Linked DNA regions of Homo sapiens: region 2 is linked to region 1. Evidence: promoter capture Hi-C in human tissues and cell types (Jung and others, 2019). All regions are on one chromosome and are shown on one strand. Each heading gives the region's core, a stretch centred on a gene start or on the middle of the fragment in contact. The rest is flanking DNA. Distances are from core to core; before and after follow the strand shown. Region 1 overlaps BAIAP2L2 (BAR/IMD domain containing adaptor protein 2 like 2). Region 2 holds the start of DDX17 (DEAD-box helicase 17).

What was found. Contacts are between HindIII fragments. The study calls those that stand out against the background at their distance.
Region 2: the fragment with the promoter of DDX17 here is called in contact with a fragment that was not itself captured in region 1 in 3 of the 25 tissues and cell types used here (aorta, dorsolateral prefrontal cortex and lymphoblastoid cells).

What each region holds. Positions count from the first base shown.
Region 1 is chr22:38,092,192-38,098,520 of GRCh38, forward strand. BAIAP2L2 (BAR/IMD domain containing adaptor protein 2 like 2) reads right to left here. Exons shown (of 14, transcript NM_025045.6): 5 at 6,220-6,291; 6 at 5,872-5,988; 7 at 4,841-4,987. Among named protein-coding and RNA genes, the nearest start is that of SLC16A8, 11 kb to the left of the region's middle. RefSeq lists an enhancer at 6,141-6,329. The HindIII fragment of the contact is 3,515 bases long and covers 1,706-5,220 here.
Region 2 is chr22:38,501,699-38,507,968 of GRCh38, forward strand. It overlaps DDX17 (DEAD-box helicase 17), which reads right to left and starts at 4,613. Exons shown (of 13, transcript NM_006386.5): 1 at 4,253-4,613. The coding sequence starts at 4,539. RefSeq lists enhancers at 3,678-4,569, 4,449-4,638, 4,570-5,461, 5,039-5,448 and silencers at 3,889-4,058, 4,089-4,358. The HindIII fragment of the contact is 16,171 bases long and covers 4,344-6,270 here.

The DNA.
Region 1 (6,329 bases), core at 2,213-4,712:
CAAAGACTAATTAGCGAAGATGAATAAGAAAGACAATTTACCGTGCCCGGGCACCTAGAGTTCTTTAAATCTTATTCTAAGGCTGCCTTCTTTTTTTGAGAGAGAGAGCGAGCCTTGCTCTGTTGCCCAGGCTGGAGTGCAGTGGCGCAATCTCGGCTCACTGCAACCTCTGCCTCCCGGGTTCAAGCCATCCTCGTGCCTCAGCCTCCCGAGTAGCTGTGATTACAGTCATCCGCCACCATTCCTGACTAATTTTTGTATTTTTAGTAGAGACGGGGTTTCACCATGTTGGCCAGGCTGGTCTTGAACTCCTGATCTCAGGTGATCCACCCACCTCGACCTCCCAAAGTGCTGGGATTACAGACATGAGCCACCACGCCCACCCCAAATGTGCCTTCTACTTATAAATAGAACAAGAAGTAAATATATATGCTTAGCTATCTTAGGAGTTAGATCTTGGATGTTTTAAAGTCCAGCTGGGTCAGACAACATGTTACTTGCTCCCTATGTGATATGGTTTGGATATTTGTCCTCTCTAAATTTCATCTTGAAATCTGACCCCCCAGTGTTGGAGGTGGGATCTAGTGGGAGGTGATGGGGGCAGCTCCCTCATAAATGGCTTGGTGCTGTACCCCACGGTAATGAGTGGTATGAGTTCATGCAAGATCTCCTTGTTTAAAAGATTGCAGTGGCCGGGCGCGGTGGCTCACACCTTAATTCCAGCACTTTGGGAGGCCGAGGTGGGTGGGTGGATCACCTGAGGTCAGGAGTTCAAGACCAGCCTGGCCAACATGGTGAAACCCCGTCTCTACTAAAAATACAAAAATTAACGGGCATGGTGGTGCATGCCTGTAATCCCAGCTACTCAGGAGGCTGAGGCAGGAGAATCGCTTGAACCCAGGAGGTGGAGGTTGCAGTGAGCTGAGATCATGCCACTGCACTCCAGCCTGAGCAACAAGAGCAGAACTCCATCTTAAAATAAAAAGAAAAAAGAAAGAGTGTGGCACCCCACCGGCTCCCTCTCTGGCCATGTGATATGAACTTCCCCTTTGCCTTCTGCCATGATTGTAAGCTTCTAGAGGCTTCGCCAGGAGCAGATGCGGGCAATGCACTTCTTGTACAGCCTGCAGAACTGAGAGCCAAATAAACATCTTTTAAAATAAATTACCCAGCCTCAGGTATTCCTTTATAGCAATGCACAACGGACTAACACACCATGCATAGGGGAAAATCTGCCTGTTCAACCCACAGCTCCCTCCTGAGGGACCCTCACCCACGAGGAGGCAGTCAAGGAGGGGGTCAGCTCTTCTCTTAATGTTGATGGTTAACTATTTACAGGCAAAAAGGAGTTTAACACAGGTGAAAAAGAGTTTCCTTCCAAAGAAGATCTATAAATAGCTAAGAAGCACAGGAAAACATGTTTAACATCACTAGCCATCTGGGAACCGGAAATCAATATTGCAATCAGATATCGCTTCACACCTGCTAGGATGGCTATTATCAAAAAGACAGTAACAAATAGTAGCGAGGACGTGAAACAACTGGAACCCTCATAAACTGCTGATGGACACGGAAACACTCCGGAAAACGGTCTGGAAGTTCCACAAACAGTTAAACATAGAGTTACCATATGGCCCCACAATTCTACTCTTATATACCCAAGAGAGATGAAAACATATGTCCACATGAAGACTCGTACATGGATGCTCAGCGCAGCAGTGGTCATGACAGCCAAAGAGTGGAAACAACCAGGCGTCCATCAGCTAACATCTGAGTAAATACATCGAGTAAACGAGTAAATACAATGTGGTGTATCCAAGCAATGGAATATTATCCAGCAGTGAAAAGGAAGCCAGTCGCAAAAGAGCACACACATTGTATGATTCTGTTTATATGAAATGTCCAGAATGGGCAAATGTATTGAGACAGAAAGTAGATTCCTGGTGGCCTGGGGCTGGGGGAGTGGGAGGATTGGGAATGACAGCTAAGGGGTACCGGTTTGTATTTTTTTTTTGAGACGGAATTTCGCTCTTGTCCAGGCCGGAGTGCAGTGGTGCAATCTTGGCTCACTGCAACCTCCACCTCCTGGGTTCAAGCAGTTCTCCTGTCTCAGCCTCCTGTGTAGCTGGGATTACAGGCATGTACAACCACGCTTGGCTAACTTTTGTATTTTTAGTAGAGACGGGTTTTCACCATGTTGGCCAGGGTGGCCTCGAACTCCTGTCCTCAGGTGATCCACCCGCCTCGGCCTCCCACAGTGCTGGGATTACAGGTGTGAGCCACCGCGCCTGGCCGAGGTACTGGGTTACTGTGGTGGAGGGTATTGAAAATATTTTAAGCTTGATAGTGGTGATGGATGCATGACTCTGTGAATATACTACAAACCAGAAAGTGTACACTGTAAATGGGTGAATCGTATGTGAATTATATCTCAATAAAACTGTTTTTCAAAAAAGGAAGTTGTTTCTCCCTGGCAGACCTTTTGTGGGATAGCAGGGGACGAGAAGGCTGAGCCTGGGGCCGGGTGAGGCGGTGACAGTGGGCAGATGAGAGCCTGAGCCGAAATCTGGGTCTTTGGATCCAGTCATGTATCCCTGGGCCCGTGGGTTCAGATCCAGAGACTCGGGGAGGGCGTGGGAGGCGTGGGAGGCGTGGGAGGGATAAGAACCCCAAGCCAGGACCGGGCGTGGTGGCTCATGCCTGTAATGCCAGCACTTTGGGAGGCCGAGGCAGGTGGATCACCTGAGGTCAGGAGTTCGAGACCACCCTGGCCAACATGGTGAAACCCTGTCTCTACTAAAAATACAAAAATTAGCTGGGCATGGTGGCGCACACCTGTAATCCCAGCACTTGGGAGGCTGAGGCAGGAGAATCACTTGAACCTGGGAGGTGGAGGTTGCAGGGAGCTGAGATTGCGCCACTGCACTCCAGCCTGGGCAACAGAGCAAGACTCCGTCTCAAAATAAATAAATACATACACACATAAATAAAATCAGTTTATCAAAATACAAGGGTCATGCTGCAGAGATGACTAGTGAGGTCTGAAACTAAGTCCTAAACTATCTTGGCAAAACCAGGAAGTGGAGGATGGGAAGGATGAAGACAGGAGTAAAAGCTTTCCAAAGGCCCCACCTCAGAATAGTTGGAGGGCAGGAAAATACTTCTTAAGGTATTATCTCATCTTTTTTTTTGAGACTTAGTCTCACTCTGTCGCCCAGACTGGAGTGCAGTGGCTTGATTTTGGCTCACTACAACTTCTGCCTCCCAGGTTCAAGCAATGCTCCTGCCTCAGCCTCCTGAGTAGCTGGGATTACAAGTGCCTGCCACCACGCCCAGCTAATTTTTGTATTTTTAGTAGAAACGGGGTTTCGCCATGTTGGCCAGGCTGGTCTCGAACTCCTGACCTCAAGCGATCCACCCACCTCGCGCTCCCAAAGTGTTGGGGTTACTGGTGTGAGCCACCGCGCCCAGCCTAATTTTTGTGGAAAGCTTTAAATCAAGGTCTCATCTTATGAATTGGCGGAGCGATGGACTGAACAGTGTGTGTCTGTAGTAGGGTGAAGTTGGCATTTTTGGAAAATAGGTGGATATATATGTGATTATGAAAGTCACAAAGTGAGGTCACCACAGGTAGAGAGAAAAAAATAGTGCAATTTCTAAATTAATAAAGGGAAAAGGGGAATGTATAGTATAATAACTCAACCAAACTGACAAGAAATAGTGTGGGAGAAAAAGAGGAAATGACAAAGTAAATACAGTTAGCTCAAGTTATCTAAAAGGAATAAAACCCAGGTATCTTCATTATTATGTTAAATGGGAATGGGCTGAATTCCTTTTCTATTAGAAGACACAGACTGTAAGACTGGTCAAAAACTCAAAAGTCAGTAACAGAAAGTATACTTAACATACAAAGAGATAAGCAAAGAGAAGAGAAAATAGAGCAGTATTAATATCAGACAAGGCGGAATTAAAAGCATCAAACTTAAGAGAGACATTAAGTACATAAATGGCAATATTTACAAAGAAGGTAGAATAGTTATAGCCAAAAAACGCCAAACAACATGGCAGCTCAATTCAGAAAGTGAAATCTATTAGAAATCCAATGAGAGATGAGAGAGTCTGACTAGTCTAGCAGACAGAACAATGCAAGAGCATAGAGGATTTAAATAATATGATAAAATGGCTGGGTATGGTAGCTCATGCCTGTAATCGCAGCACTTTGGGAGGCCGAAGCAGGCAGATCGCTTGAGGTCAGGAGTTTGAGATCAGCCTGGCCAACATGGCGAAACCCCGTCTCTACTAAAAATACAAAAATTAGCCGGGCGTGATAGCACATGCCTGTAGTCCCAGCTACTCGGGAGGCTGAGGCAGGAGAATCGCTTGAACCCGGGAGGGAGAGGTTGCAGTGAGCCGAGATTGTGCCGTTGCACTCCAGCCTGGGCAACAAGAGTGAAACTCTGTCTCAAAAAATAAATAAATAAATAATATGATAAAATTAATAGACGATAACTGAGCACACCTATCAATGAATTTGTGAATTGTGAGAATATACAAACAGGAATTAAAAAATGGTCCACACATGAATAAATAAATGCATGAATTCGTGAATGCATTAAAAACAAACAATATCACGAGTGAATAAATGAGTGAATATACAGTGATACAAGCAAACCCAGAAACAAAGGAAGAAATGGATGGAGATAGCAAAATAAAATGAATTTCTACAGACAGGCAGGCAGGGAGGGAAGAGGGAAGAAGGGAGGGAAACCTCTATGTACGGCCACTCAGGAGGGGGCAGCTCCTAGAAGCGCCCCGCTTGCTGCCCCCCAGTCCAACTCACCCGGCCGAAGAACTGCAGGAAGGTGTTGGAAAGTAGCAGGTGCTTCTCTGCTAGGAAGCGATAGCGCCGCTTCTCTTCCAATTCAGCCGCCCGCTGACTCTCAGACACGAAGGCCTGCATCTGTGCGTGCAGCCGGTTCACACTCTCCTGGGGGGGAACGGGAGTTCTGGCTGGGGGCGGTGGGTGTGTCTCATCCCACCCCCCTCGCCCACAGGCGCCAGCTGTTCAAGCCCCCTGTTCTTCCTGACTGCCCTCTCCCCAAGCCCACCCCCCATCACCCGGCCCATCCTAGCTCCTGAGCCTGCCCCATCATCAGCAGCCTTGTTATGAGTCTGGGCCCTGCGTCTCCCTCTCCCAGGTGCTTCTCACAAGCAGGGCTGCTGTCTGAGCCTTCGCTCTGTCCCTGGCACCCAGCACAAGCCCAAGCACGGGCTGGGGGGGCAGGGGGACGGGTTTAATGAGAATATGAATGAGTAGGTTAATAGCCCCTACTTGGGGGGAAGATTCTGAGGAGGGGAGGCGTGAGCTCACTTAAAGGAGCCAGAAGAGACGGGAAGGGAGGCAGAGGGTTAATCCATGGGTTTGGATCTTGGAGACAGAGGCCAGGGATGGGGCCCCAGGCTCAGGAAGGGGAATGGCCCTAGCCGGGGGCGGGATACCTCTGCCAGGCAGGAGAGAGGGGAGGAGGATGGGCGGCTGGTGGATGACACCTTTGGCACCATGTTCAAGCGAGCAATTTTCTCGGTGAAGTAGGAGATGGGGGAGGTGGGATGGGTTTGCAGGAGAGGCCCGGGGATTCTGGGTAAGGCCAGTAAGCCACAGGGCAAGGGGCGGTGCTGGGCGTGGCCCTAGGAGCTAGTTACGCCCACCCCACCAGGGGCTGGCTGACCTCCCCAGCCACGCTCATCACAGTTGGGCTGGTGCTCGGTGGGGGAGCTCAGGGAGGCGTTCGGGGTTCCCAGGGCCCGGTCTCGCCCCGAGGTCTGCCCACCCGCCCTTCCTGGCCCACCCCCGCTTCCCGGCCCTCGCACCTTCATCTCCCGCACGTTCTTGTCTCTCTTGCGCTCCATGCGCCACAGCTCAGACATGCACTTCTCCAGGTTGGCCGCTCGGTGGCGGTACTCGAGCTCATAGTGCTGGCGGCTGTCCTGGGGTAGGGTGGAGTCGGGGAGGGAGAATCCCCCCACATCAGAGAGCTCAAGACACCCCTCCCAGAGATCAGGGCCCTGGAAGTTTGGAGACTTGGGGCTCAGCTGGGAACATGGATAATCTGGGGCCCAGTCAGTGCTCAGCACTGGCCTGTGTGTGCCTACCTGTCAAATGGGAGAGGGGGTCCTGCCTGCAGTGAGTTGGGGGCCGAGTGGGGAGGCCAGACTCACTTTGATGAACTGCATGTCCAGCTTGGTGTTCTTCTCCATGTGCTGCAGCAGGCCTCCATGGAATGTCTGCACCTGAGCGGAGTGCAGGGTGAGGGTGATCAAGGCCCCCC
Region 2 (6,270 bases), core at 3,363-5,862, 410 kb after region 1:
AATAATGTGTAATGTACTATAAAAGTATCTGGCATAGCCAGCACTCAGTACAAGTTAGCATCATTTCATTCAACAAATAGTTATTAGGTACCAAGTTACTAGGTACCAAGTATGTATCGGCTACTGTTTGAAGTGGTGCTGTGCTGGAGTTACTAAACAAAACAGACACAAGTCTCTATTTTTGTGTAACAGACATGCAGGCAAAGGATGACATTAAGTTAAGTTTCAATTAAAGGGAAGATTGTGGACAAGAAGGAAGATACACTCCAAGCAAGTCCCTCAATCTTAGAATAGCTTCTTGGGCCTGCTCCCCTATTAAACTGTGATAAGCACTCCACCTGTCTGCTTATCTGCAAAGCAAAACTGGGTCTTGGAAAGGACTGGTAGACTGGTCTTCATTTTTAGCTTACGCTAATAAAAGAGCTGAGCCTGCCGGGGGCAGTGGCTCAGTCCTGTAATCCCAGCACTTTGGGAGGCGGAGGCCAGTGGATCACTTGAGGTCAGGAGTTTGAGACCAGCCTGGCCAATATAGTGAAACCCTGTCTCTTACTAAAAACACAAAAGAGTAGCCAGGCGTGGTGGTGCACGCCTGTAATCCCTAGCTACTTGGGAGGCTGAGGCAGGAGAACCGCTGGAACTCGGAAGGCGGAGGTTGCAGTGAGCTGAAATGGCACCATAGCACTCCAGCCTGGTAGACAGAGGGAGGGTCCGTCAAAAAAAAAAAAAAAAAGCTGAACATAGATTTATGACCTTTCCTTCTTCTTTGATCTCTACTTTTACCTTCTATCTCCTTCTTGTTCCCAAATGGTATTATTAATTTACAGAGAAAAAAACACTAACAAGACTTATTTAAGGCTTTAACACTCAACTAATTACTTAAGATCAACTTCTTGCTTTTTATATACCTTTCACAACAGACAAGCTCAAGAGGAATACAAATATGACCACTAGCCAAAGCTAATATTTAAGAAATCAGAAGCTACTTTTCCTAGAAGAATCTTAACACTAAGATGGCCTTAATTTTCCCTATTTCGATCTTGTAAAGTACAGGTCTTTGTTTGGCATACAAACTGTATAGCATTTTCTCAGTTTCTTTACTCCTTGTAAAATATTGTACTGAATTTAGTTCCCTTTTCCCACTCTAACCCACTTGTAACTTCATCTTATATAAAGTTCCACTTTATCATTGATAGGCAAGTAGGTGTATTATTCTACAGGGCCTCAATTTCCTGCAATTCAAAGCCATTAGAACTCTGGCTTAACCAGCCAGACATTCCTCTAAATACATACGTAACAAAAATTGATGGCAGGAGATTTTATTGGGATCACTGGATACCTACACTCAACAGGCAGAACTTGGCTAATTCCATTTATACCACTACTGAGACAGTGAAGACAAATTAAGAATCAGAACAGGAAGAGCACATAGCATAGGGATACCCGTGTCAGCGACATATTTAATATGCCCCTCAGCTTAAGACTCAATACTGAACAGACCAAAAGGCCACCTCAATTGCCGCTCCCGCCACACTTGCAAATGAAGCAGCTAAATAAGGTACTTTTCAAGAGGTAGAAAGTCTTTGGATTATCACTCTTGCAAATTATAAAAGACTTCATTGTTATTGCCACATTGCAATGCTACCCAAACCTTAGTGACTTAGGAAAAAATAAAACTTGAAAGTAAGATTCCTGTTAAGGCTTTAAACTGATGATTATCATTCATGTATTTTTTTTTCCTCTCTCCTTACTTCCCTGGCTATTTATTCAAGACATTCTATTCTACACTAAACATTTAATTTGAAACATGTGGTTCTTGGAAAATATGCCGTCTTCCATGTTTATAATTAATGCTGACATAATTAATGACCTCAAAATTCAAGAAAGCCTTTTACTTTTGAGCATATCCATGCCATCTTTAAATACGCACACTGTACTCTCTGGTATACTATGCTGCTCAAATGTTTTTATCCGGTCAGTAATTAGTTTAATTTGGCTTTACAAAAAAATTCACCTTTGAAGTCATATATTAACATTAAAAACCATACTACTTCAAATGTACAATGCCTATCATTTTTGCATCACACATGTGAAATACATGAACTGACCTCACCTATTCCTTTTTCAAAATAACCACCACTTCAACTGTGTAACACTCAGTTGAAACAACAGCAATTCAAATAATCAAGAACATTTCTTGGGAAAGGGAGAGTTGGGGCACAGATCTTATGAAAGAAGGCTAGTTCGTTTGAAATTTTTAAAAAATGTCATCTGATACTCAAAGTATGGATCAGTAATTCACTTTTTTCCTTTCAAATAACTTATTAAAGCATATATATGGTGAAAGGAAATATTAAACCAAACACCAATGGTAAAGAAATAGAACACTATTAGTAACTTGTAGCCCCTCTATGTGCCTATTTCAAGCTTACAACTTTCACCCTAATAACCACTACCTTGAATTTTGTTAACCACTCCCTTTCCTATCATATTTGCACATATCCTTAATTAAATGTGTCACCCTACCACAACGTGCTTTTTAACTCAACACTTCTGTGACTTATCCACATTAATCCAAGTTCTTTTCTCTTTTTCACGGCTGATTCAATTGTACGAATACCCACAATTTATGGAGACATTTGCGTTGTTTCCAATATCCTGTTAGCACGAATGCTGGTATATAAACTTTTCTGTACAAGGATCCTGGGGTACCTGTGCAAGGATTTCTCTAGGCATTACAGTCTAGGGTATAAAGCTTAGGGAGGAATTGCTGGGTCGTTTTCAACTTTCCTAGATAATCTCAAGTTCTTTTTCTAAGTCAATGAACTGAAATTCACTTCTAAACTTAGCAATACTGTCACACGCGAAGCAAACATTCCACCTCTCATCCTCTAAACAATGAGATAAAATATTTTCCTTCCTAATAAGGTATAAATCAAAATAATTTTGTAAAAAGTGGCAACTGAAGTGCTTGAGACTAGTAAATCCAGCAGTTGTGGATCTGAACCACAAAAGACAAAAACGTTTGGAGAAAATATCGTTAACAGAGCGCCTACTACAGTGAGACTATTACATCCATTATCTCTTAATTCCTGACAACACAGCAAAGTAAAGGCAATTATCACGTTCCTCAGAGGAAACAGGCTCACAAAAGGTAGGATCTTGACCAAGGTCACACACACACATATCAAGTGGCGTCACGTAACTCTTTGGGGAAGCGGGGGGGTCGGGGGAGACGGAGTTTCGCTCTTGCCACGGGCTGGAGTGCAATGGCGCGATCTCGGCTCACTGCAACCTCCTCCCCCCGGGTTCAAGCGATTCTCCTGCCTTGGCCTCCCGAGTAGCTGGGATTACAGGCATGCGCCACCAAGCCAGGCTAATTTTGTTATTTTTAGTAGAAACGGGATTTCTCCATGTTGATCAGGCTGGTCTCGAACTCCTGACCTCCGGTGATCCGCCCGCCTCGGCCTCCCAAATCGCTGGGATTACAGGCCTGAGGCACCACGCCCGGTCCACAATACCAAGAACTTTCTAGCGAGGCAGAATAGTTGACGCTGCAGTCCAATTAGAGAAAAAAGGCTGAAATATTAAGATTAAAACTAAAGTAACGACCCAAAAACCCATCCTTCCCCCAAACACGGTCATTTAGATGGCAAGCAACTCCACTGCTTTACATCCCAATGCATTTCCTCCGACTTAAAATATAACTGAAGAGAATTAAAATCTATTTCTAAAAATGAGAAGTTGGTCTTTTCGTCTCCCGTGCCTTAAACAGTGAACTCTGGGGAGAGAACGTCAAGGGTGCCATTTCGTGTAAGGCTTTCCTGGGCTGAAGTGTTCTCTCAGGAAGATCCGCGTTTTTCAGATGAACGCCGAGGCCTGGAGACATCGAACAGCCCGCCCGAAGCGGCCCGGCTCGAGAGCCGGGAAACCAGGCGAGGCGCCAAAGCCCGGGCCTGGGCTGATGCGGCCAGGCCGCCCCTCCCGATCCCCCGCGGGGCTGGGATGGGGCCGGGCCGCGCCACGACGGCCGTCCGCACGGAGAGGCCCAGCGTCGCCAAGCGGCCGCCCTCCTCGGGTCCCGAGTGACCCCGGGGCCGAGGTCCGCGCACGAAACCGCTGTCTCGCCTCGAGTCGCCTCCCCTCGCCTCCCGGGTCGAGAGCAAGGCTCCCAGGCTCGCAGTCCGCCGGGCCTCCCCAAGAAGCAACTCCCCCACCCCCACGCCAGGCCTCTCCTCTCCTCCCCCACCCTTACCCTCCACGGTCACGATCCCGGTCCCGGTCCCCAAAGCCTCCTCCGCGCATGGTCCCAAAAGGATAGAGATCTGGGAGCGGGGCACGGATGGCCGGGCTCGGGAGGGCCTGCGGCTCCGGTCTGGTGACGACCGATGGCGGCGGCGCCTCCGCTGTTGGGGCGGCGGCAGGCGCAGCGCTCTCTCGCTCCGACGCGCTGTCTCCCGTCGCAGACGCCACCGTCGCCGCCTCTCTCGTCGGAGACGGGAGCAAAACACAGAGAATCGGGGCTACAAAGCCGGTGGGCAGGTTTGGCTACGCTCAAACCGGGCAGTGCCGCGGTTTAGGCGTCTCCTTCCTTCCCAGCGACTGCACAAAATGGCGGCCGCCGCTGAGTCGGCTCCAACTTAACGCTGCGTACGGCGGAGACGATACGTAAACAGCGCCTCGGAATAGCCCGAGGGCTCCGCGGGGAACTACGGGTATTCTTGGAAGCACTTTACGTCAGTTGCGACGATGGGTGTATTTTGCGGTCTGTACAAGAAAAACAAAGTACGGAGCGAGCGTAGAGTTCTCGCGCCACCCGAACTAGAACGTGGGATGAGGTGGGAGGAAGCGCCTCTGGTGCGACGTAACATTCTTTGCGTCGTTAGCCGGCCTGCTGTTGCTAAGATGCGCAGTATGCGTAACGCATTCTGTTTAGAGAATAGAGGATTTTGCCTGATTCCGATCTCGGTACAGACCCCGCGGCCGGCTTGAAGAAGTTGCTTTGCAGAGACAATAACCGTCCTCCATATTGTTATCAAGTTTCAGAGTCCTCTGGCGCCAGAGGCCGGGAGGGTCTTAAATTCCGTGGCTGGCCTTCCTATATGGCGCCGCCAGCCCTCTCGCCCCACCGCCCTGGGCCCGCTGAGAATGGCGGCGGGCCCCGGCGCCATTTCCTTTCCGTTGCCTTTCGCTGCTCTGTCTCCGGCAGCCATGATGGAAGAGCCGTGTCCCTTTCTTTCCGGAGTTTGTGAGGTGGCGATGTCCCTTCCAGGTTAAAGTGCCCTCAGCTACATTTGGTTCACACTGAGGTGCATTTTCTGAACCGTATATTTTTACCGTCCCTGGCCGAGCACAGCTGTTGCTAATACAGAAACAAAATGTGCTTGGAGGCCAGGCATGGTGGCTCACGCTTGTAATACTAACACTTTGGGAGGCCGAGGCGGGAGGATCACCTGAGTCCCGGAGTTCGAGACCAGCCTGGCCAAAATGGCAAAACCCCGTCTCTACGAAAAATACAAAAATTAGCAGGACATGGTGGCGGGTGCCTGTAGTCCCAGCTACTTGGGAGGCTGAGGCAGGAGAATCGCTTGAACCCGGGAGTCGGAGGTCGCAGTGAGCCGAGAACGTGCCACTGCACTCCATCCTGGACGACGGGGCAAGAATCCGTCTCAAAAAAAAAATTGCTTGGAGCCCCAGTGGACTCCGTGGGCCCTTTGCTGCCGTTGAACGGCGCTCCTCAGAAGGCCCGGAGAAGACCCCAGCACTCTCAGGAGAACAAGGTTTCAGAGCGATGGTCTTTAGACACAGAAAGGGCGAAGGCTAAGGACAAGTGTTTAACCAGGCTAGTCCACGTTCTCCGCTCAATTCCTTCCAGACTGGCTTCCCTCTCCTTACCTGCTTCCTGTCGTCTCAAACTGCATTTTGAAGCCCCGCAAGCTTGGCCAAATGGCGTCACACGACTGTTGAGCTGTTAGGGCCCTCGAGACGGGCCCATCTAACGTCTCAATTCAACAGATGGGTAGAAGCGGGGAGATTTGGCCCCTCAGTGTGGGTGCTGAGTGTTTGTTTCCCAAATTTTTGGGAACATAGCATAAGAAAAGGAGCTTCAAAAAGAAAAAAAACATGGACCACTGATTTTTCTGTGGTTATGTGTTCTTTTTCCCCAAGTACGTTCTTAACATTGGCAAGTGAACCTCTTAAAGTGATTGAGACTCGCCTGGGTCATATTCTTTTTCTTTTTTTTGTCTGGAGTGCAGTGGCACAATCTCGGCT